Regions from separate parts of the Homo sapiens genome. Here regions 2, 3 and 4 are each linked to region 1. The links are contacts of gene promoters, found by promoter capture Hi-C in blood cells and fetal thymus (Javierre and others, 2016). All regions are on one chromosome and are shown on one strand. The core of a region is centred on a gene start or on the middle of the fragment in contact, and the rest is flanking DNA. Distances in the headings are between cores, read along the strand shown. Region 1 holds the start of RASA2 (RAS p21 protein activator 2). Region 2 overlaps TFDP2 (transcription factor Dp-2). Region 3 overlaps SLC25A36 (solute carrier family 25 member 36). Region 4 overlaps XRN1 (5'-3' exoribonuclease 1).

Evidence for each region. The method cuts DNA at HindIII sites, captures the fragments that hold promoters and counts their contacts. A CHiCAGO score of 5 or more calls a contact.
Region 2: a fragment that was not itself captured here is called in contact with the fragment with the promoter of RASA2 in region 1 in 1 of 17 cell types (fetal thymus); the score reaches 6.1 in fetal thymus.
Region 3: a contact is called between a fragment that was not itself captured here and the fragment with the promoter of RASA2 in region 1, in 1 of 17 cell types (neutrophils). The highest score is 5.5, in neutrophils.
Region 4: a contact is called between a fragment that was not itself captured here and the fragment with the promoter of RASA2 in region 1, in 1 of 17 cell types (neutrophils). The highest score is 6.1, in neutrophils.

What each region holds. Positions count from the first base shown.
Region 1 is chr3:141,485,345-141,488,276 of GRCh38, reverse strand. RASA2 (RAS p21 protein activator 2) reads right to left here and starts at 1,250. Exons shown (of 24, transcript NM_006506.5): 1 at 1,061-1,250. The coding sequence starts at 1,193. RefSeq lists a silencer at 462-1,341. The HindIII fragment of the contact is 5,296 bases long and covers 1-2,435 here.
Region 2 is chr3:142,025,893-142,028,674 of GRCh38, reverse strand. The region is part of intron 3 of TFDP2 (transcription factor Dp-2); the gene reads left to right. Among named protein-coding and RNA genes, the nearest start is that of TFDP2, 120 kb to the left of the region's middle. RefSeq lists an enhancer at 1-299 and a silencer at 686-735. The HindIII fragment of the contact is 1,116 bases long and covers 693-1,808 here.
Region 3 is chr3:140,944,096-140,946,944 of GRCh38, reverse strand. The region is part of intron 1 of SLC25A36 (solute carrier family 25 member 36); the gene reads right to left. Among named protein-coding and RNA genes, the nearest start is that of SLC25A36, 3.7 kb to the right of the region's middle. The HindIII fragment of the contact is 4,988 bases long and covers 1-2,849 here.
Region 4 is chr3:142,330,926-142,333,741 of GRCh38, reverse strand. It overlaps XRN1 (5'-3' exoribonuclease 1), which reads left to right. Exons shown (of 41, transcript NM_001282857.2): 35 at 653-775; 36 at 1,208-1,367. Among named protein-coding and RNA genes, the nearest start is that of GK5, 110 kb to the right of the region's middle. The HindIII fragment of the contact is 6,055 bases long and covers 1-2,816 here.

The DNA.
Region 1 (2,932 bases), core at 1-2,500:
AAGAAAATAATGCTAATTTTCGACAAATGCAAAAATAAATGTTATTGATCTCTCTTACAAACAGAAAACAAAAAGCACTTCATCTAAATAAACCACTGTGAAAAAAAAAATGGCAACCTGACACCAAAGGGTCGTTTTTAAAACTAAAATGTTCAAATGACAGAACTCAAATAATCTGTCCACAGTAATGCTCGGACAACTCTGAGCAAAATTTCGTATTTAGTCAACTGGTAGGCTCGCTCACTAAAGTAGCAATTACACGCATGAGAAGGAAGGGAATTAAGCGGGCTGAGTGCGGGCTGGGTGATTGTGTTTTGAGACCTGCTCACAGGAAGCCACTACATCCTGCCTTTAGTCCCGCCTGTCACGCCGTCCCTCGATTCAAGTCCCGGCCGCAGCGAGGTGGGGCAAGTACAGGTGTCCCGCCGAGCTCCTCCCGGGGCGCTCACCCGCGAACAGACCGCGCGGTAGCCACTCGGGCCCCAGGGCGGCCCGTTTCCTGCAGCTCAGGGCGCCTTTTTCAACCTCTCCCAGGCTCGCCGAGCCCAGGAAACGAACAGCCCCCTCCCCTCGGGCCAGCCCCACTTCCCAGCCCGCCACCTCCTCGGGCCGCGCCTCCGTATAATTACTGCTCGGCTCCCACCGCGGGGCCACTCCCCAGCGCCCGCAGCCGCGCGAAGGCCTGAGTCTGAGGGCGGCCGGAAGCTCCTCACGCCCCCGGACCGCGCCCCCGGCCGCGCCCCGGACTCCAGCGTCCCCGCGTCCAGGCCGCTCCCCACGACCGAGCCCCTCACGCCGGCGCAGCCCGGGCTCTCCCACCCCAGGCCCATCTCCAGCTCCCACTCCCTCCGGAGAGCAGCAGCCCCGGCCCACGCCGCCCCGTCGAGGCGACGCCGCCCCCCAACACACCCCCTTCCAGCCTCAACCGCGCCCGGCCCAGGCCCCCTCCCGGGCCCGCGATCCCAGCGCAGCTCGGCGCCGCCACCGCCGCGAACCCGCCGCCCCCTCAGCCTCGCGCCCAGCGCCGCCAGGGCGTCCCCTCAGCCCAGCCCCCGCTTACAGATCTTGCCCCGCAGGCTCTGCAACACTCGAACCTCGCGACTGTCCTGGTCCCCGGCCTCGGGCTCTGCAGTCGCACTCGCCGCTGGCGCCTCGGAAGAAGCCGCCGCAGCAGCAGGCGCCGCCGCCGCCATGGTGCCGCCCGGCCCGTGCCGCAGCCCTGCCGCCTGCGTAGCCGGGCGAGGCGGAGCCCAGCAGCGGCCTAGGCCCAGGCCAGCCGCGCGCCTGGCCCCGCCCCCGGGCCTCGGCCCGACTCGCCCCGCCCCGCCCCGCCCGCCGCGGCCCCGCCCCCGCCCCCCCCGGGTCTCCATTCACCGCCTTCGCCACCCCCGAGCCGGGCTACCCTGCAGAGAACCGTACTCCCGGCTTGGGGCGCTGGCTAAGGGTAGCTCCCAGTCGTGGCTCTGAGCGGCCTTAAAATCCCCACCAGGAGAACGCCCCGGCCCTCCCGTGATCCCTAAATCCTCCCGGGAATTGGGCTCCCCCAATGAATAGACCTGCACATCTCCTAACGCTCGCGGGAAATACAGGCCCTTCCCAATCAGGGAAACTCCCTGTGGGAAGAAAATAGAATGGAATTTGGCAGGTGGGTGGACCTCAAAAGTATCTTATTCAAAAGGAGGCAAGAGATGCATTTGAGGCTCTTCCAGTATTATCCAAATACTCCCCGCCAGCAAGCCAAACTCCTCCCACACAAATACTCTTTACTAGGACCAATTCTCTGCAAAACCTGGTTCAAGAAAAGGACCAGCCACCCCCAACTCCAGCGTGAGTGCAGTGCCTGAGACCCTCTCATAGAGAAATTCTGAAGCATTTACCATCACTTTTGTATTTCAGGAACAGAAAAAGCAAAGAAGGGCTCCCCCCCGCCACCGCCACCACTACTAAAAGTTGGCTTTGTTAAAAAGTTGACTGACCCTAGGAAATGTGTAAATCTTTGACTAATTGTTAGCTTTATTTCAAGGGAACTCTTTACAGTGAGTAAACTGCATGAATAATACCCTGGTATGTGATGAGGAAGACAATTTCCTGGTGTTGAGGTTGTTAACTACGCTGCCCTAAGAAGGAAGAAACTGTGACTTAATCGGGCAGGGTAATTCTTTTCCAGGGCAACAACAGGAATAAGCCAGTCAGTCAACAAATATTTTTTGAGGGTCAGACATAGTGATGGCCTCAGACCTCAGAGACTACACAAAGGTCAAGATGAAGAGAGCTCCAGCTCATTCTGGAGGGAGACACAGAAAAGGCCAGAGGCACTGGGAGATAAGAAATAGGACGGGGAAACCTGAAAACTGAAGACAAACGCGCCGCCTGTGCAAAGGCTGGACAGCCCCAGAGAATGGTCAGAGTTTAACATGGACCTGGCCAGCGAAGCTTCCAGTTCTGCCTGTGTTGCAGGTGACTTCTATTTCCCCATGTGATCTTTACACTTGTTGGATAAAGTGAACCACTTCCTCTTATATGAATGTTTTGCTGTCATTTCAAACATAAGTCCAAAACTTAATTTCCTGTCTCCCTTTCCAAATCTGAGTTCACATCTTATACTGTTACTCAGGCCAGAAACTTTGACTTTTTCTTATCCCTTGTCCCAATGCTGTTTTCAGTTGCCACATCCTTCTGACTCTGCTGAAATCTCTTCCTTCCTTTCCATTCTCTGTCATTGCCCTTGTTAAAATTATTCTCATTTAAAGAGTATCAACGTGTTACAGGGTTTTTTCCCCCTTATTTTTAAAGGCATCCCTTTTTAGAATCAGACATAGAGCCTGTTTCTACCCCTTTTACATTTGGGCAAGTTACTCAACCTTCCTAAACCTGTTTCTGTTTCTTCTCTTTCTTTCTTTCTTTTTTTTTTTGACAGTCTTGCTCTGTTGCC
Region 2 (2,782 bases), core at 1-2,500, 540 kb before region 1:
CTTACGTCTGACACAGTCTCAAGTTTCCACTGAATGGTAACAAAGACTGTAGAATGTTGTTGGTACTGCAGTGAGAGGCATGCTTCCTTAGACCAGGTAAGAGAGATCAGTTTGTTTCTCACTGCTGGGTGAGTTTTTACAGCTCTTATTTTATATTCTTTAAGCAGCAGCAATATTAAATTGATAAATAGCCAGGAGCACGCTGATTTCAAGACGTCCTTGCTTGTTGCAGACAGAAAAACTACAGGGTTATGTATGGGGGTTGGGGTGGGGGGGGAGGGGAAGAATTAGTTTATTACTCAGTTACTTATATAAATTAATTAAAATGTGAAAATAATTCTGGAGCTCAGTTTTCTTAATTCAGGAACTAAAGCAGCAGTTGAGGAAATCAGTAATTTTAAAGGTACTTCATGGTTATTACTTGTGAAAGCAATTCAAAGGATAGTTTTTACTTTCATTTTTTTCCCCAGTAGTTAATAAAATAAGCTTTGCCCTTAACTAAACATTTTTTCCACTTACGAAAACTTTTAAATTGCCAACAGCAAAATATACTTCCCAAGGATCCTTGGAAATCAACCTGACACTTGAAAAATATTTCAGCTTTTATAGCTGTTTCATTCCTTTTTTTCCCTAGTACATTTTTCTTAAAAGTATTTGTGCTTTGAAAATGTCAGCTGTATTCTAATGAAGCTTAGGCATTGTTTGCTCATAAAGGGGCCGGTGCATTCCACTGCTTTATGGTTTATTATGAGGCACAGTGTGAGAGTGTGGGTGGCACCATTTGGTGTCTGCCTCTTGGGGTAGTGACTGCCATTATGTTAGCCTTGGACTGGCAAAGAAAATATAGCATACAAGATGCTATATGAATCTGGATACTGTGAAGAAAATCTTACCCCTAAACAATTCTTAATGACCCCGGAATATATGACAACTTGATTGAATTGATCATTTCAATTATACCCTTGAAGTTTGCATTTTAGTTACAACGTATATTCTATTAGACACGTCTTATTTTTTGATATATAATAGCATTTAGTCATTCTTTGAAGTTCAATAAGGAAGTGAATGTTTCTAAACTATGATGTTTTTAATAGATACAGTGAAATTTTAAATAATACATTTACTTAAAAAAGTTTTAAGGAACTTAGTGTGGGTGGGGAGCGGGAGTGGGAGAGGGAGAGGGAGAGGGAGAGGAGGTCAGGCAGAGAGTCTTTCTTCTTTCAGTTAGGAAAGCCCTGGTGAAGAAAAAAAGCAACAGATGTTTCTTCTGTTACAATTGAGGTTGTTTCATTCAAAACTCAGAGTAGCTGGAATGGAGAGAGGAGGTCATAAATCTGATTTAATCAGTGAATAAATAAAATTTAGTCATTTAAAATTTATTATTTTATATTCAGGAATTGAAAGTCATAGAGTAACAAAATGAGTAACATACCCAATATTTAAAAAAAAACTTTAAATATTGCCTGTAGCCTGTATAATTAATGAAAATGTGAGAAAATTAATTCTGTTGAACTTCACTTAAGGAAAAAATTGATAATTAAATCATATAGACCATTTTTTTAAAGCCTAAGCCATCTAAAATATAGAGGAAACAGTTGCAAAAGTTTATCACTAGACAGTAGGTACAAAATCTCAAAATGAAAATAAAATGAGAAACATCAGTTACATATGTTGATAGATGATTTCATCTTCTGTGAGAAGCTGAGGCTTATTCCTAAGACCTTTGCATAAGAAATATGGGAGTAATATTTTGGGTTTAATTGAAATGATATGTTGCAGTTTGCCTCTAAAAAGAAAGATAATAAGCTTGGATTGGTTGCTAATGGAAAGAGGAGAATGTTTATCTGCTGAAAAGAGTAGGAATGAAGAGTGTGGAAGCATTATGCGTGTAATGAAAGCAGTCAAAATTTTGAAAAACAGTTTTTGAATTTTTGGAATTCATAATGAGGAAAGTGAAAACCTTTCCTTTTACAAGTAACACAAAGAAGTCCTATGCTGTTGTATAATGTGCGTGTATACACATTACAACTTTATTCATTTCTTAAGTTTGCTCTTGAAAAATCAGTGCTGAGCACCAGCTCTTTCACATATGAGGCACTTATTCAATATTTGCCATACCCTACACTGGAAAATTCGTAGTAATTTACAGTAGCCAATAAAGTTTTTGAGCTATAGTTTAAAATTTGCATATGGATTAATTATTATACAGTTTTCTAAATAATTGGCCTAAGGAGAGAGAAGGCTGGAAAAGATATCAACATTCAAGCAGATTATTAAAAATTCCTCTTGCTGTTAGCTAAGATCTGTGGGCTTACCTGAAGTTATTTTTTTGTTGTTTTTTTTTGTTGTTTTTTTGTTTTTTTGAGACGGAATCTCGCTGCAAGCTCTGCGTCCCAGGTTCACACCATTCACCTGCCTCAGCCTCCCCAGTAGCTGGGACTACAGGCGTCCACCACCACGCTCAGCTAATTTTTTGTATTTTTAGTAGAGATGGGGTTTCATCATGTTAGCCAGGATGGTCTCAATCTCCTGACCTCGTGATCTGCCCACCTCGGCCTGATGGTCTCGATCTCCCGACCTTGAGATCCGCCTACCTCGGCCTCCCAGAGTGCTGGGATTATGGGCGTGAGCCACTGCGCCGGCCAGAAGATTTTCTTTTCTTCAAATAATGATGACCAAATTTAGAGATTTTGAAGTTTGTTTGTTTTTTGAGATGGAGTTTCGCTCTTGTTGCCCAGGCTGGAGTGCAATGGTGTGATCTCGGCTCACTGCAACCTCTGCC
Region 3 (2,849 bases), core at 344-2,843, 540 kb after region 1:
TCACTCCCTTAGTGATCTCAACTAGGCTCATGGCACCACTTATGTTCCAATGACTACTAAATATATATCCCTAGTCCAATCCTCTTTCCTGGACTCCAGGCTAGTAATCCAATCACTTAAACAATCAGCTTCTTGACCTCTCTACTTCTCAAACTTACCATGTCTAAAATGGAGCTTCTGATCTCCCCTCACCCCAACTCTGTTCCATCTGCAATCTTGCCCATCTCAGTTGACAGCAATTCCACCCTTCCAGGTGCCCAAACTAAAAACCCTGGAGTTATTCTTCGCTCTTCTTCTACACTCTGCATTCAATATGTCAAAAATCTTATTATCTTTACCTTCGAAGTCTAACTAGAATTCAACCACTTCTCACAATGTCCATTGCTTCCAACCTAGTCTGAATCACCATTATCAGTCAAGTGGATTATTGAAATAGCCTGATCAACTCCCTACTTCTGCCCCTGTCCCACGCATAGTCTAGCAGAGACCAATTAGCCTTTAAAAATTCTATGACTCCTCCCATTTCAATAGAAAAGGTCAAAGTCCTTTAAAGGCTTAAGAAGGCTCTATCATTCTGGCCATACCTGCTTCATTATCTCACTCTTACCAGGGCTAGGGTCTTACTGGGGCTAGTTCCTTTTGTATAGCTAATTCTCTCCCTTCCAAGTCTTTACTCAAATGTCATCTCAGTAAGATTCATCATCATTCGATTTAGTACTAGAGTGCACTCCTACCACAGTCCTTTAAGGTGCACCATTTTTTTTCCCACAGCACTTAATGCCTTCTAGTTAATGATAACAATTACTAGACAAGACAGTCCCTTGTCTTGCTGTCCGGTTGTCGATATTCTTCAATACTATATTACAACCAGACAAGTGGTAGGTTCTTAAAGGTTAGCTGAAATGTAGAATCTGAACTATACCAGTAAACTTTTCATACTGTTATATTAAAATCCACTGGTCTATTTTAAAATCTGAATGACTTTTTTACCCATGGCTGACTCCATGAAAAAAAGAAGCTAGTGTAGCCTGCAATTGAAACAACGCAGAACCACACTTCGGCATACAGTTACTTCATGTCTATTTCCCATTTTGTCACACAAAATATTAAATATAGAGGTATTCAAAGGTTGTGATTTAATAAAATTAGTATTTTTACTCCTTCATGAGCATTCTTAGGTTAAACTGGCTTTTTTTTTTTTTTTTAATTGCAAGTACCTGGAGGTGAATACGATGACTACAGTCTGGTGCCACTGCCTTCATGCATGCTAAGGCATCAGCAGTTTTACCCATCATTGCTTTTGCACCATCAGGACAAATGTCAACAAATTTGTGCCAATAATGTATTTTTATGAAAATAGTTTTAAACTCTCAGACCACAACAAGGGTCTCAAGAAGGAGAATCCCTGACCCACAATGTTGTGCTACACTAATCCATTTGCAGAAAAATGGTAGCTGCTGTGCTACAGTAATTCATTTATAGAAAAATGATTTGAGAATATTCTCCAACAGGATAAGAAACTTCCCTTAGTTTTGCAGTCTATTAGTAAGAAGAACGGAATGCATTTTTAGAAGGAAAAAAAGGGAAGGAGGATGTCTGAATGTTTGTCTCCCCCAAAACTAGTAAGATGAAATCCTACTCACATCCCAAGGTGATAGTATTAGGAGGTAGACGCTTTCAAGGTGATTAGGTCATGAGATTGTAGCCCTGACATTTGGGATTAGTACCTTTATAAGACACCAGAGATCTTGGCTAGCCTCTCCTACTACGTGAGGATACAGCAAGAGAGTATCTTCTATGAGGAAGTAGACCATCATCAAAAAACCTGTTACTGCTTTAATTTTGAACTTCCCAGCCTTCAGGACTGTTAGAAATATTTGTTATTTATAAGCCACCAGTTTTTGGTATTTTGTAATAGCAGCTTAAACAGAGCAAGACAGAGGAAAAGGAGAGGTAGTAAAAATTAAGGAAATGAGACTAATAAAAATATGGTCAGAGTGAAGCGGAAATAAATCACATTAATTATACTTTTAAGTATTCTACTTCTGCCCTGATCTTCAAGCAAACAGGTGAAATAATTTAACAAATATCGTTCATTATACCCAAATGGGAATTTCCTACTGAATAAATAATAATGATTGAGCAAATGAATGAGCTCCAGGATATAAAAATAGACAGTTCTTAGATCATCTTTGATTTTACTCACTACATATATTAAATTATCTGTCATAAGAGCTGCAAAGAAAATACTTCATCCACTTAAAATCTTAAGGTATATAGCTCCTATTTGAGACAATATCTCCCTCAAATAGAAAAAAAATGAGCTGCCTCTGTAGATATATGCAGCTGATACAATAACTAGACAATGTACAATTCTATCAGTCTTTAAAAATACATTTAATAGTGCTTTCATCTCTATATACATACATTAGAGGTACAGCTAAAATTAAATCACATTTACACCTTTTTTACAGGCTGTCATGATATCGTTCCTTAACTCAATTAACCTAACTACTGACCTTACAAACTCTGAATATTAACTCTGGCAAAAGCATAATGGGATCAAAGGGTGTCTTAAAGAAAGCACGAGTTATGCATGTGAGTATTTCACCCAGAACCAAGGTCCAGTGCTGGTGTTTAACAATACAGCTACTAGGCTATTAGAAATGTGGGATTCCGATAAACATATTTGAATATTACAATTCTACTTATCAGAAAAACAACTTAAAGGCTCCATATTCGGAAAACCCTTGCCTAAGATTAAATACTCTGTGAAAGGTTACTCTTGGTTCTTTTAAAATATACTGGGCTTCCTTTAAAAAGATAAGGTGTGTTTTACTGAACTCACT
Region 4 (2,816 bases), core at 80-2,579, 850 kb before region 1:
TCATATAAGGACACTAATACCATCATGGATGTTGCACCCTAAAGACCTCATCTAAACTTAATTACCTACCAAAGGCCCCACCTCCTAATATGATCCCATTAGGAGTTAGGATTTTAACAGAAGAATTTTGGGGGAATACAAACATGCAGACCATATAAGTGTTTTGTTGCCTATATTCATAATTGCAGGAAATGCTAAATCTCATTGAGAGGTTAATGAAGATTAAGGTGTAATTTTCCCCATCCAAGTTTATAGGCCCCTTTTCTTATGATACAAAAGGGAAAATAGCACATAAAATTTTTTTGCAACAATTTATTTAGAACACTATTACATATTAACTATAAATATATTTGCACAAAAAGTTTATTCTTACTTTTTTAATAGACTTTAGAAGGGCCTGCCAAATATAATATTAAGCTATTGAAGAGAAATGAAAGTCCAGAAGTCTCAGAAACCCAAAAGGTTGTGACTGGTTATCCAAATGCTATTGATAAGGTAAAAAACTATTTATTCCAATTCTCTTCCCAAACTTTAACACCTGGGAAGATGATTGAGTGAAAATCGAATGACCATTTTTGTACATAAAACTCAGCTTTTTGTGTGTTCTTGTATTATACGTTCATCTTCATGCCCAAAATATTTATTCTTTTAGCCTAACTCTGGAATTGAGAACTTTTTAGCATCTTTGAATATCTCCAAAGAAAATGAAGTACAGTCATCTCATCATGGGGAGCCTCCAAGTGAAGAGCATTTGTCACCACAGTCATTTGCCATGGTTCGTATTTTGTAGGAACTTTCTTACTGTGGTAATTTCTCGACTGTTGACCATGCAGACATATCCCATGCAAGTGTTCAAACACTTCCATCATGGAGGCTGGTATGTTACATCATTATTGTCATCTTGTGAGGAAACCAGGCTGCCCTGGGCAATTTAGCCATACTTTTTCTCTTTAGACCACAGTTCCCCTGCTTTTCAAACATTGCTACTAGGTAACTGGGATGAAAGTTAAGCAGGAGGATAAGTATCGTTTCTGTATCAGAAATGTGGGTGTTGGGTTTTTTTTTTTCAGTTTCTATCTGAATGTAGTTAATGTCTTAATTGTTAACAATGGAATTCTTTCCAAGAAAGATCAATAAGTTCTACAGATGTAATGTTGACTTTGTTCTCTTCACCCTCACCATCTCCATGTGAATCATTTTCAAAAAGAAGGGAACACGGATGCTTAAAGAAATTCTAAAAATTGATGGCTCTAACACTGTGGACCATAAGAATGAAATCAAACAGATTGCTAATGAAATCCCTGTTTCCTCTAACAGAAGAGATGAATATGGATTACCCTCTCAGCCTAAACAAAATAAGAAATTAGGTAAGTAAACTAAATACTATTACCAATAATATCATTTTAAAAATTCAATTCATTTGGTTCTTTTTAATCATGTACTTTTAAAGATAAAACTGCTTTTATTTTAATGTATTTATTTATTTTAGAGATGGTGTCTTGCTGTGTTGGCCAGGCTGGTCTCAAACTTCTGACCTCAAGCAATCCTCTCACTTCAGCCTCCCAAAGTGCTGGGATTACAGGTATATGCCACCACACCTGGCCCAAAACTACTTTTATTCTTAAAACTATAATTTTTATATTTGTTTCAGTTATATAATAATATAACTGGCCAGGTGTGGCTCATGCCTGTAATCTCAGAACTTTGGGAAGCTGAGGCAGGCGGATCTCTTAAGCTCAGGAGTTCAAGACCAGCCTGGGCAACATGGCGGAAACTCTGTCTCTCTAAAAAATACAAAAGTTAGCTAGGTGTGGTGGCGTGTGCCTGTAGTCCCAGCTACTGGGGAGGCTGACGTGGTAGGATTGCTTGAGCCTTGGAGGCAGAGGTTGCAGTGAGCCAAGATCACGCCACTGCACTCTAACCTGGGCAACAGAGATAGACCCTGTCTCAAAAAACAAAAAGAACAATAATAATACAACCATGTAACCAATAGATCTACAGTCACTAAATGTCTTCTTGTGATTACTTAATTGTAGTGTTATAGATAATCATTCTGTAGACATCCAAACCTTTAAAAGTTTGCACATTCTAGCTTTTGTCCTCAGTAATTTAAAAATTATCATGTAACTTAAATACATTATTTAACTTTTCTGAAATCTTGTTTCTTATTTATAAAATAAGAATAATACATTACAGATTACTTGTGGTAATTATATAACATGTATAAATATAAAACAGCACTATGTCCAACACATTGTAGGTGCTAATAATTGATATTAATATTATGTTAAAATAACCTAACTGTTGTAAAAATAGAAAAATCTACAAAATCAATTAAAAATCATTAATAGAGTTAGATATAGGAAAGTGAGTCATACTCTTAAGTCTGTAAAGCCTATAGCATAACATCTGGCACATAACTGGATTTCAGTAAATATCCGCCATATTTGTTCCTACCCTGAATGTCCTCTATACTTTAGCATTTTATCTGTATAATGATCTACTAAAGGCAGCCAGGAAGAATGACTGATACAAAAGTGGATGTGGGCAGAAGTTTCTCAGAGAAGTCAAAAACATTTTGGAATAAGCAGATCTAAGCGTATTAAAGATCAAAACCTGGAATTGGCTGGGCACGTTGGCCCACATCTGTAATGCCAGCACTTTGGGAGGCCAAGGCGGGTGGATCACCTGAGGTCAGGAGTTTGAGACCAGCCTGGCCAACATGGTGAAACCCCCTTTCTACTAAAAATACAAAAAATTAGCCGGGTGTGGTGGCAGGCGCCACCAAGTAGCTGTAATCCCAGCTACTTCAGAGG